Linked DNA regions of Homo sapiens: region 1 is linked to region 2. Evidence: promoter capture Hi-C in 16 types of primary human blood cells and fetal thymus (Javierre and others, 2016). All regions are on one chromosome and are shown on one strand. Each heading gives the region's core, a stretch centred on a gene start or on the middle of the fragment in contact. The rest is flanking DNA. Distances are from core to core; before and after follow the strand shown. Region 1 holds the start of MICU2 (mitochondrial calcium uptake 2). Region 2 holds the start of SUGT1 (SGT1 assembly cochaperone of MIS12 kinetochore complex).

Region 1 (6,563 bases), core at 701-3,200, about 31 Mb after region 2:
GTTTCATTTGTGCCATTTATTTATTCACTTATTTACTCACTCATTGAATGTCTATTACGTGCTGGGCATTGTGCTAGGTGCTAGAGAAACAGGGAAAAGGAAGACATCTCACCCACAAGGATGTCAAATTGTGGGAGAAAGACAATGTTCTTAAATATGCTACATGTTTTAATGGGAATCTAAACTTATCTTGGGCTTAAGGCAATACTGAGTAATAGATGCCAGGTTTCATTAAATACCTAGAGGAACTGTGTGAGGCAGTTAGAAGTATACACGTAAAGACTGTGGTTTCTGGAAATCAAGAATAAACTACAAGGTAAGACATCCAGGGTGTCCAAAATATCCTGGAAGTCCTATTATCACCAGGAAACAAGCTAGATGTCAATAGTCCAGAAAAGCAGGACATGTGCCAAAGCTACCAGAGTTAGCAGAGGTGAAAAACAGTCCAGAGGTTGACAAAGTCAGGCTAGATACAAAAAAGCAGGAAAATCTCAGGTTAAGATGGGCTAGTGATCTGGAATCATGGACATTCAGTCAAGCTCATTTGTGTTCACAGGGCAGAAGTAAACCAAACCTTGACCACAGTAAACGCACATCTGTCATGAGCCTACCATGTGCCAGGCATTTGGCTAGTCACTTTATATAAAATATCTCATTTAGCTTCCCCACCCCAAACTGTAAGAGGGTTGTTCACAGATGAAAAAATTGAGACTCAAAGAGATTAAATACCTTACCCCAAATAGCAGTGATCATCTACCAAATCGTGAGTTATTTACAAATGAGAAAATGGAGACTCAGAGAGATTAAATAATTTGCCCCAAACCACAGTGATCATCCTGGTAGAGCTAAGATTCAAACCTTGAGGTCTGGCTCACAAGTCGGTGAAGTGAGGCTCATCTCTCTACTTCCTACCTGGGAAGGCACACTGAAAAGTAAGTCCAGAAGCTGACGGAAAAGTGAGGAACCTCTGACTGCAGATTAATTTAGACAAGCGGGCTAAGAGAAAGGGAGCAAGGATTAAGGGCAGATAATAACAAAGGGATCCACGGAACTTCCACTGAATGATCAAATTAGATTTCGTGTGACAGGTTTTTGTTTTTGTTTCTTGAAGTTTTGTTTTGTGCAAAACTTCAAGACAGCAGTGATTATGTGATTAGGAGTCTTGGCCCCTTTGATGTTGGCTCCGTTACTGCATGCCCAACTAAAGCTTCTAATAGCTGGGGACATTTCAGAGGCTGAACAAAGAGTTTATTAAAAAGAGTTACTCAGGAAAAGTGAAGACCAAAGAATGGAGGATTGGAGGCTGTTAAATAAAACCAAGTAGTCTGCCTCAGCTACATCACTTATCACCAATGCAACAGCCAGGACTGGAGGTATCGTTCTAAATCTGCACTGGGGAAAACCTCTGGGTCCCTGATGATAGAGACATGGGGCTGGTGTGCTGCTGTCTCTGACTTTTAGTTCTAGGTAGGATAAGAGCTACTATCAAACCTTTTGTTGAAACTGAATTTAAATTCATTATAAGCAAATAGTGAGGGACTGAAATAAACAGAATGCCTTGTCTGAGAGTTGTTTTAGCAGAAATGAAAGAACAGTCAAGACTATAAGCATAGGAAGACATGAACAACACAGATGCAGAAGAGACTATTTCAAAAAACGTTTCACAGTTTTACAAGGTGAAAAAATGAAAAGGAGAAACCTGCCCACACAACCGAGGGCACTATCTTGTTTTGGACTAGGAAGTCATATTATACTGTCTTGATACTCTTCCTGTCATCCCATCCCCACAGCCTTAGAAGGCAGCCCCGGAACCGAAGGCCACCTCTTGCGGCTGCGAGCGTCGCCTCAGCAACCGCACCCACGGCGCAGGCCCGGTAGGCGGGGCGGAAGCCTGTCGGATGTCGCGAGAGTTCCCAAGCGGTAGGCGGCGGCGCCGGGAGAGAAGCGCCGCCTAGCTGCGCTTCCGCAAAGATGGCGGCGGCTGCGGGTAGCTGCGCGCGGGTGGCGGCCTGGGGCGGAAAACTGCGACGGGGGCTCGCTGTCAGCCGACAGGCTGTGCGGAGTCCCGGCCCCTTGGCAGCGGCAGTGGCCGGCGCGGCCCTGGCAGGAGCAGGAGCGGCCTGGCACCACAGCCGCGTCAGTGTTGCGGCGCGGGATGGCAGTTTTACAGTCTCCGCACAGGTACAGGACTAACTCCTTCTGCTAGCCCCAGTCAAGCTCCTCCCTCCCCTGACGCCCTTAGGCGGGGAGTGGTTTGGCTCTGGGCGGCTCTCCCGGAGCCGTGGGTGGAGGTGCCGCTGCGGATCGGAGCGCCCTGCGACTGGTGGGACTCGCTCCTTCCTGGACCGGCCCCCGGCCTGAGTCCCCGAGGGCCTTCGAGGCTGGTGACCGGAGATTCTGCCTCCCTTGGGAGAACCCCGCGGACGCTGAACACCACGGCCCACAAAACTGGCCGCACTAATTTAGTGGTGATGAGTGTGGGCGTGTCTTAATTCGAGGCTCCTAATTCAGAATCTCACTGCGCCTCGCCTCTTGCTACCTCTCTGGTCAGTGAAGTGGCATTCACATCCGCAGGTGGTTTGCGTCCAGTTACCCCTGTGGGATATACCTTTGTTAAGCTTTGCAACTAAGTTTTACGATCTTTTCTTTGTATAGCATGATGAAGTTCTGTCGATTGCTTTTTTAAGTCACGAATGTGTCAGCCACAAAAATTAACCAGTTGATTTCCAGATTTTATTATCAACTTTAAGGAACATTATTGCATGATTATAAACCTTAATATCTTAGTGGACCATAAGTTCTAAGCAAAAATTGCTCCTAAAACCTCCATCTATTAAAGACAAGAGTCCGCCGGGCGCGGTGGCACACGCCTTTAATCCCAGGGCTTTGGGAGGCCGAGGCGGGTGGATCTCCTGAGGTCAGGAGTTCGAGACCAGCCTGGCCAACATGGTGAAGCCGCTCCCCACCCCAGCCCCGCCCCCCCGGTCTCTACTAAAAAATATAAACAATTAGCTGGGTGTGGTGGCGGGAGGCTGAAGTAGGAGAACCGCTTGAATCCGGGAGGCGGAGGTTGCAGTGAGCCAAGATCGAGCCATTGCACTCCAGCCTGAGCTACAAGAGCGAAACTCCGTCTCAAAAAAAAAAAAAAAAGATTCAAGTTCCCTATTTCAGGATAAATGATGTTGTAACGCATTTGAAAATTTGAATGAGTAGTGCTTTAAAATTTTTGTAGACTTAGTAAGTTTTTACATATGAGCTTTTTTGAAAATTGAAAGTAGTAGTTTATTATTTTCTTTTTTAGATTTACATTATGCCTTTCTAGCGAAAAACTCAAGGAACATTCAGATACAACAAAAAAGAGAGGAAAGAAGGCCTTGTGAGTTAAAATTAAGTATTGGCAACTGATATTCCTTATTTGTATTAACATACATTATAATTATATTGTAAACATATATAATGGAAAGATCTATTATCTAGTGTTTTTATAGCATTTTTGTGAATCTTGTGCCAAGGAGTTCAGTGTATTCATCATTAGTTTCTCTCCCCTAGATTCATCCTGGTTTTTTTGTTTGTTTTTTGTTTTTGTTTTTGTTTTTTTTGAGAGGAGTCTCGCTCTGTCGCCCAGGCCGGACTGCAGTGGCGCTATCTCGGCTTACTGCAAGCTCCGCCTCCCGGGTTCACGCCATTCTCCTGCCTCAGCCTCCCGAGTAGCTGGGACTACAGGCGCCCGCCATCGCGCCCGGCTAATTTTTTGTGTTTTTAGTAGAGACGGGGTTTCACCGTATTAGCCAGGATGGTCTCGATCTCCTGACCTCGTGATCCGCCCGCCTTGGCCTCCCTAAGTGCTGGAATTACAGGCGTGAGCCACTGCGCCCGGCCGATTCATCCTGTTTTTAAGACCCTTAGGTTAATCTTCTCCGGAGTATCACTTTAACCACACAGTGTACCCTTCTTCAGAAACCCTTCTTCAGTGTCTCATTTTGCCAAGAGTAAAATGCACTTTTTTTTTGTTGTTGAGATGGAGTCTCTGTCACCCAGGCTGGAGTGCAGTGGCGTGATCCCGGCTCACTACAACCTCTTAACTCCCCGGTTCAAGTAATTCTCCTACCTCAGCCTCCCAAGTAGCTAGGATTACAGGCATACGCCACCACGTCCAGCTAATTTTTTTTTGTATTGTTAGTAGAGCCGGGGTTTCACCATGTTGGCCAGGATGGTCTCGATCTCCTGACCTCGTGATCCGCCTGCCTTGGCCTCCCAGAGTGCTGGGATTACTGGCGTGAGCCACAGCGCCCGGCCAAAATGCACATTTTAAAACTTTGTCTTTCAGAGCCTTTTATAGTCACACTCTGACCTGACACTACTCAGGCACCTTCCCACTAAAGTGATTCACTCACTATCCCTAGAACAAGACTTAAATACCGCTCACCCGCCAGCTGCAATTTGTAGACTCTTGATTTCACTTATCCATCTAATTGTTTTTTTTTTTTCTGGCCCACTTCTAATCTTTCTCCTTTGAAATCCCTGACTTGATTCTAAAAGCTTCACACTAGTGTAGTTATTTTGGATTCTCTTCCCAACTCTCAGCTCTCCTTCCCTGCAGCTTTGTAAGTTTAATCTTAGCTAAAGTAATACAGAAACCATTTTATTATCAATCGTTTTATAAGGTCTGTTGGCATAGCATTTGCCTGATCTGCTATTGGACCGAGACAGTGGTTCTCATCCTTTTGCCACCACGGTGGACATTCCTTTCAGCATCAGTGGCTGAATACAGGAAGGATTGAGAGGACCTATAGGTTGAAAACTTTGCCTTCGCCTCAGTGATTTTGATACATTTCCCTAAGAAGTGGGCCTACTACCACTACTTTAGGGACAGGTGTGCATAGTTGAGCTAGATATATACCAGAATTTTGGCTTGTGATGAATCTTTCATTGCAATAGAATTTTATGCATTAATATAGTTACATTGGTATTCCAAGTTGGTAAACTCTTCCTGACGCGGCCCTATAATAATAGTGAATATGTCCGGCCGGGCCTGGTGGCTCACGCCTGTAATCCCAGCACTTTGGGAGGCCGAGATGGGCGGATCACGAGGTCAGGAGATCGAGACCATCCTGGCTAACACAGTGAAACCCCGTCTCTACTAAAAATACAAAAAATTAGCTGGGCGTGGTGGCGGGCGCCTGTAGTCCCAGCCACTCGGGGGCCTGAGGCAGGAGAATGGCGTGAATCTGGGAGGCGGAGCTTGCAGGGAGCCGAGATCCTGCCACTGCAGTCCAGCCTGGGCGACAGAGCAAGACTCCGTCTCAAAATAATAATAATAATAATAGTGAATATGTCCTTCATTTTCAGTCATTACACTAAGTGCTTTTTTCCAATAAAAATATAAATTTATATTAATGGAGTCCTACACTTTTCTAGTTCCCATTGTGACCAACAGCTTGCATTTGTGAGGGTCAGTCGGGAATTAAGGGTAGAGTTTCATGTCATGAAACAGTAGATAAATTGGAACCTTCCTTTTTTCTTTACTTTCTTCCTTTCACAAGTTTTGAAATCTTACTCTGTGCTAGACAATATGCCAGGAGCAGGGATTAGAGACACAGTTTATGTGCTTACAGTTTAATGGGGAACGGCAGTTTTAATACAATGTGATAAATGCTGTGGTAGGGTTAAATACTGGGTGCTGTGGAAGCATAGTGGAAGAGTATTTCACAAAGTCTTGGTTTCCTGAAGGAATTATGTGTAGGTTGACACCTGGAGGGTGACTGCAAGTTTGCTAGGCAAAGAGAAGGGGAAGAGTTTTCTAGGCAAAGGAGATAGCTTTACAGAGATCTGGAAGTAAGAGTTGGACTCAGCAGAGTAAGAGCTGCAAAAGATGGGGTTCAAAATTGGGTGTGAGCAATGGCTGGGAATCAGATCATTAAGTGTCCCATAAGCCATGTGACAGGAATTTTTATCTTGAGGACAGCAGGAAGCCATTGCAGGATTTCTTAACCCTCATGGACCCCCATATGTCCATGCATAGAATTTAGGGGATCCATGAACTTAGAAAAAAGATTACATTTTTGTTTTCATTGACAAAATTTCATCGACAAAAATTTTGTTTCATTGTTTTCATAAATTGTTTAATGTTTTCTTCATTTAATGAATGTAGGCAACAAGCTATAGTGGTATTACAGTAACTGCCTTTGTCATCAACAGAAATCTCAGATATTTTCGTACTATATTAGAGTTGTTGTAAGTATCTCAGAGTATCACTTCTTCAAAATGAAAACACTTTTTAAACCTGCCACCATATCATACTATTTAATGCATAAATAAGTCCATGTAATACTATGTCACAAATTTGTTTCTGACCTTTGGAAAGAGTATTGGGACTTTAGTAAAGGGAGTGAATTGAAAACTAGATTTAGGGAGCTGTTGCAATAATTCAGGAGAGAGTTGATGATAGCTAAATTAGTGGATGAATTCAAAAGACATTTAAAAGATAAATTCGTAAAGACTCTGAATTGCAAGTCTATGTATGGTGTTGTTATACCTGGCCAACAAAATAGTGCCTCCTACAA
Region 2 (6,112 bases), core at 1,712-4,211:
TCCCAGAGGCAACTCATATACAAATATTCACAATCTAAAACTACTTTCTATCCTCAAACCTATTCCCCCATGCTGAAGGCAATCTTCTAAGTGCTATCATCCTAAGTGCTATCTAAATGAATGGCACCAGTTCCTACAACATTCCCCCAGCCAGAAACTCAGGAGACATCCCTTATATTCTAATCGTCACCAAGTCCGGTGCATTTTACATAAAACAACTCACCTCCATGCCCTCAATCACTGCCCTACATGCAAATATTCATCTTTGACCCGGTCTGCACTACCATCTTCCTGCTATCCACTATCCCTTGTGCCTCCTCCAATTCGCTATCTACTCTGCTTTTAAAGTAGGTTTTGTAATTCAGAAAATTTCATTTTCCTTCCTCCAAATTCTTGACGGATCTCCATAATCATATGATAAAACTGAAAACCCTGTGCTGGGATTTAATGCCTTTGATGGCCTGGCCTCACTGTCGCCTGGGCTGGAGTGCAATGGCGCGATCTCAGCTCACTGTAACCTCCACCTCCAGGGTTCAAGTGATTCTCCTGCCTCAGCCTCGCAGGTAGCTGATTACGGCTGCCCACCACCATGCCCGGCTAATTTTTTGTATTTTTAATAGAGACGGGGTTTCACCATGTTGGCCAGGCTGGTCTCGAATTCCTGACCTCGTGATCCGCCTGCCTCGGCCTCCCAGAGTGCTGGGACTATAGGCGTGAGCCACCGCGCCCGGCTGCACTTCTAATGAATTGCCAGGTGATGCTGATAATGCTGGTCCAAGAGCCATACATTAAAAACCAAGGTACTAATACTAGCCACATGACTATCCTAGGCAATTCTTCTCCTAGGTACATACAACCAAAAGAAATGCATGTGTTCACCAAAATACATGTACAAGAGTATTCACAGAAGCTTTTTGTTAGCTAATAACTAGAAATAACCCAGATGTCCACTGTTAGAATAAATTGCGCCGTACTTACGGCTATACAACATATATTTATACAATGGAATATTACACAGCAATGCGAAAGAACTACTACTTCACACAATATGAATGTATACTTATGTAATCATTAAAGCAAAAAGAGTGTCTACATTCAATAAAGCACCTACTGTATGATTCTGTTTATGAGTCAAGAACAAACAAAACTAACTGATGGTGATGGAGGTCAAAGCAGGAGTCAGCAGGACAGTAAGAAGAATTACTGGCTGAGAAGGCGCATTAAGGAGCATTATGAATGGAGATACTCTGTATCTTAATCTGGTGGTGTAAACATGTGAAAACTCATCAAACTATAGACTTAAAATCTGTGTTATTTACATAAATCATATATGCCTCCATAAAAATTTTTAAAGTAAAAGAAGATGGAAAGTGACAATAAAATTCATTATGTTAATACTGTTTAAAAGCAACTTTTATATAAACTGGATTCCCAAAGGAAGCACTAGGTCTAACACGACAATAACAAATGTAAATTAAAAGTCATAGCTGTCTAGCTAATACAAGAAATTATGGAGAAAAATTCTCAGTGCTTCCTGTAACATTATCCCCAAACTCATCCCAGAAGCCTTACTCCCAGTATCTAAAGGTCTATATATTTAGGTGTAAAAAACACACCTGGACCCTAAAAGGCCTTATAGGACCTGGCTCCTAGTTTCCTGTCCAACCTCTCTTAATCAAATGGGCCCTCTAATAAAAAGGGCCTTTTTGTTGCTTCACATACAGGCCAACTTCATTCCTACCTCAAGATCTGCACTGGCTCTTGGTCCTGCCTGGAATATTCTTTCCCCAGAGCTTCCAAGTTAATTCCCTTGTTCCTTCAAATCTCCACTCAAAGATCTCCTCAACGGAGGCTCTAGTACCATGTGGCACATTTCTTATAAAAGTCATAGCTAGAAAAGACGCTGTCTTGCCTCAAATTGTTAAACGTAACAGCAAAACAGGTTTCCTCTTTTCTGTGATTTAACGCAAAAACAAACAAAAACTCCTGGCTAAATTCTGTGACCCGCAGCATCATTTATCTTTAGGTTCTCCTTTAATTCTTATTATTTAACTCTTGATCTTTTACATTCCTTTACAGCTTTATGGTTTGCCTTCATTGCACACCTACAAAAAGTGATTTCTAGGTTAGCTGAGTATATAACCAAGACTTTAACCCACAGCAATCAGCGCCTTTGCACACAGCCACTCCAAAAAAAAATTTTGATGAATATACAAATGAGTGAATAATGAATTGTGATAAGACATCTGGAAAGTTTCAGGGACGTGAGGGAAAAGGGTTTTGCTCCAGTAGACTGACTTCATACCGACACTTTTACGTAAGAATGGCAAGAATTATTGTCAAACGAAAAAATTAACTTCATCGAGCCCAGAGTCCACTTCTCTAATCATAAATGTCATTAAAAAAAAAATCCTTTCAGCCAAACTACAAATGCCAACCATGCTCCCAAGAAATAGAGGAGGTTTTTCTCAGGAGCTGTAGGGAGTGGAAAGGGCAAGACAGGAGTCTGGGGTAACGCGGCTACCGTGTAACAGAGAAAAGAGACGGAGAATCTCAATACCGGAGCTGAGACGCAGCATCAACAAGAGCCTGGGTCCCTGTCCGGCGGTGCGGGGAGAAGGCGGGTCAGCGGGGACCCGAAGTGGCCCAGCTCCCCTAAGAAGAGTGGAGGAAGCAGAAATGGGCTCTCTCACCTCTAACGCCGCCTGGGGGTCCTCGTCGATTAGGGCATCCGAGAAGCTCTGGAAAAACCTGTCAGGAAAACAACGACTTCAGCAGGGCTCACTAGCCAAGGAAAGGGGGATAAAATAAATACCAAAGGGAAAGAAAAACATGCACCTCTGGGATGTTGCAGTTCCTGCTGCAGCCGCCGCCATCCCTCGTAGTCGCTGTTGCTGCCGCCGGAGCTGCTACTATCACGGTTACCACCTCCACCACCGCCCAAGGGGGAAACTTCTGGAGAAACACCAACCGAGCTTCCGTCCTAAATAGCCAGCGAGCAGCCACGCAGCGTGCTGCTAGGGGGACGGGAGGCGACACGCCGGCGCGGGGCCGGCTGGGACAGTGGAGGACCGATTCCTCCCAGCCGCACCCCGGCCCAGGACCCGCGCTCCCAGTCCCCGCCCCTCGCAGCCATGGTTACGGAGGCCTGGGGCGTACACGTTCTTCCTCCCTTCCACCGCGCCCACGCCAGCGGGCACTCCCACGGAGCTTTCAGTAGTACTTTAGAAGCACTTTTGTAACGTACTGTCATCCCTAAGGAACGTGTGGCGGTTAGGGGCGTTTGTATGTCTGTTAATAACGGAAGCTACTTCGAGCTCCCATTTTCCCTAGTTTTTATCATGGCTGCCACAGCTAGCCAAGCCCTTTCGCCTCCATTACGTCTTTAGCGGCTGCGTGGTCTCTTCCGGGAGCAGAGGCCCGGATGACGCGTGGATCCCCGCGATCTTTGGGCTGGGGATTCTAAACGACTGGGACTTGCCGGAAGTCATTCTGCACTAATAGCGGCAAAAAGCCTTCTGGTTCCTGGGGCGACGCGCCCGGCGGCCGTACTATTCACTTCCCCAGAACGCCACAGCCCAGGCTTTCTTCTTAGTGGGCTTCCCAGACCAAGAAGGGAAACCTTTCATCCGAAGGTACTGAGGGGAGGAAGGTGGCCTGAAGTTATCTCAGTGCCGCTTTGTTTCCCACCCCAGTCGGTCAGCCCTTCCTCAGCGCCCTTTAACCCTTGCAGATCGGATGGAGAAAGCTGCCAGCACGTTCTAGGGATGGGGGCAGATTGAGGAGCGGGAGGGAGTAGTCTTTGTCTAACTTTATACCAGTACCAAACTATGTTAATTTAATGTAGTTTTATAATAAATCTTTAAGTCCTGTAACTTATTCTCCCAAGATTGTTTTGGCTTATTCTACGGCCTTTGTATTTCTAGGTGAATTTTGGAATTAGCTTGTTAAAAAGGGGGGGGATTTTTTATTGGGCTCGCATTGAATCTATAGATCTGTTTGGGAAAACTAGTATCTTAACAACAAGTCCTTCAATCCATGAATATCATTCTTCCCCCACCATTTATTTAAGCGGTCTTTAATTTCTCCTGGCAATATTTTGTAGATTGCACATATATCTATATTTTAATGCAGCTGTGCTTGGATAGATTGCAGTATAGAGATCATATATATCTTTCATTAGATTTATTCTTGAGTATTTAGTGTTTTGTATACAATGTTAAATGGCATTTTGACTTTTTTATATTCTACTCGTAAGAATAAACAATATTGATTTTAACATACTGACCTTATATGCAAGCATCTTGCTAAGTTCCCTTGTTATTTGTAATACTCTGTAGATTCTTTCGGAATTTCTGTGATCAAAATCTTGCAATCCACGAATAAAGATGGTTTAACTTCTCTGTAACCTTTATACCTTTTATTTTTATTTATTTTTGCCTTTTGTTGCTGGCTAGTGTTTCCACTATTGAATAAAAACAGTGATAATGGACTTCCTTGTCTTGGTCATAACATCAGGAGGAAAGCATTGAATATCAACTGCTTTTTCTGCCTTTATTGAAATGTTCATTTGTATTTTTTAATGTTACTGTGAATTACCTTGGTTAGTTTTCAAATGTTATCTAAATGGCCAATTGTCCTTCTGGACCCCACTGACTCCAGTTGGGATGGCACTGTAAGAAGAGAGGCAGAGTCAGTGAAGGAGACAAGGTTTATTCAGGATTTACATACAAGGGTGGTCCGGTGGTGGAGGGCTGACCTGGAGAACTGCTACCATTTGTAAAAAGCACGTAGTCTATATAGCATTTTCACTTAGCACTCTCCTTCTAGCAACCTCCATTTAACCCCAAAGGGCCTTGATCTGTACAGCGTAAGATACGGGCCAGGGATGTGGATGTCCTTCATAGATAAGGAGTGAATCTCTGGGTTGGCTGCTCCTGGATTCCTTAGCCCAGGACTCCAAACGTAAGTTCTTCTTAGACCATAGGGTTAGTCTCAGGTATGCTCCGGTTATGGCTCAGCCATACACTAATGTGTGTACACCAGCCTCTGCCATGCACCAATACACATATATGTATGGCCTCTGAAAGGGTGAATTCCAAGACCGCCCTATGGGCCCAACATGAAAAGAAGTTCTATATATTATGGACATTGAAATCAATGAGATACCAAAACTACCACCAGAATGGCTTAAATTAAAAGGACTTCCAATACCAAGCACTGACAAGGATATGTAGCAACTGTATCTTTCATATATTGTTGGTGAGAGTTTAATCATTTTGGAAAACTGTGGTACCGTATGTCTGTTCTTGCATTGCTATAAATGAGACTAGGTAATTTATAAAGAAAAAATGTTTAATTCACTCATGGTTTTGCAGACTGTACGAGAAGCATAGCAGTTTCTACTTTTGCAGAGGCCTCAGGAAGCTTCCAATCACCGCACAAGGCAAAGGTAGAGCAGCCATCTTACATGGCAGGAGCAAGTAGGGTGGGGGTAGGTGCTACACATTTTTAAACAACCAGATCTCACAAGAATTCACTGTTGCAAGGACAGTACCAAGAGAGGTGGTACTTAACCATTCATGAGAAACCCACCCCTATGATCCAGTTACCTCCCACCAGGCCCCACCTCCGACATTGGGGATTGCAATTTGACATGTGATTTGGGTGGGGACACATATCCAAACTATATCAGACACTATCTACTAAAGCTAGTTATACACAGACCATAACCCAATAATTCTACCACTGGGCATATACCCAAGAGTATTTATTATTTATGATCATGTAGAAGAATATTCATTGCAGCATTACCCAAGGTAGCAAAAACTGGAAATAATCTAAATGTCCTTAAATAGGAGAAAAAAATATTACATAGCAATAGGAATGAACGACTACTACACACAACGATATGGATGAAGCTTATATACATAAGTTGTGGTAAAAAAAAAAAAAAGCCAGACGGAGTACATCATGATTGATTCCACTTAGATGAGAGGTATCATAAGGGAACCTCCTGGTTGTCAGGGAGGGTGGGGAACAGGAGCATGAAGAAATCTCGGATGCGGGAAATGTTACATATCTTGATCTGGCTGGTAATCACAGCAGTGTA

The links. Contacts are between HindIII fragments. The CHiCAGO score rates a contact against its expected background, and 5 or more counts as called.
Region 1: a contact is called between the fragment with the promoter of MICU2 here and the fragment with the promoter of SUGT1 in region 2, in 4 of 17 cell types (total CD8 T cells, total CD4 T cells, non-activated CD4 T cells and 1 more). The highest score is 17.8, in total CD8 T cells.

What each region holds. Positions count from the first base shown.
Region 1 is chr13:21,599,557-21,606,119 of GRCh38, reverse strand. MICU2 (mitochondrial calcium uptake 2) reads left to right here and starts at 1,950. Exons shown (of 12, transcript NM_152726.3): 1 at 1,950-2,181. The coding sequence starts at 1,972. RefSeq lists enhancers at 1,767-1,836, 1,618-2,236, 2,237-2,856 and a silencer at 2,007-2,216. The HindIII fragment of the contact is 1,411 bases long and covers 1,210-2,620 here.
Region 2 is chr13:52,649,685-52,655,796 of GRCh38, reverse strand. SUGT1 (SGT1 assembly cochaperone of MIS12 kinetochore complex) reads right to left here and starts at 2,961. Exons shown (of 13, transcript NM_006704.5): 1 at 2,839-2,961; 2 at 2,694-2,751. The coding sequence starts at 2,876. SUGT1-DT (SUGT1 divergent transcript) reads left to right here and starts at 3,490. Exons shown (of 1, transcript NR_170300.1): 1 at 3,490-4,492. RefSeq lists enhancers at 2,481-2,600, 2,710-3,211, 3,321-3,660 and a silencer at 2,961-3,230. The HindIII fragment of the contact is 4,517 bases long and covers 913-5,429 here.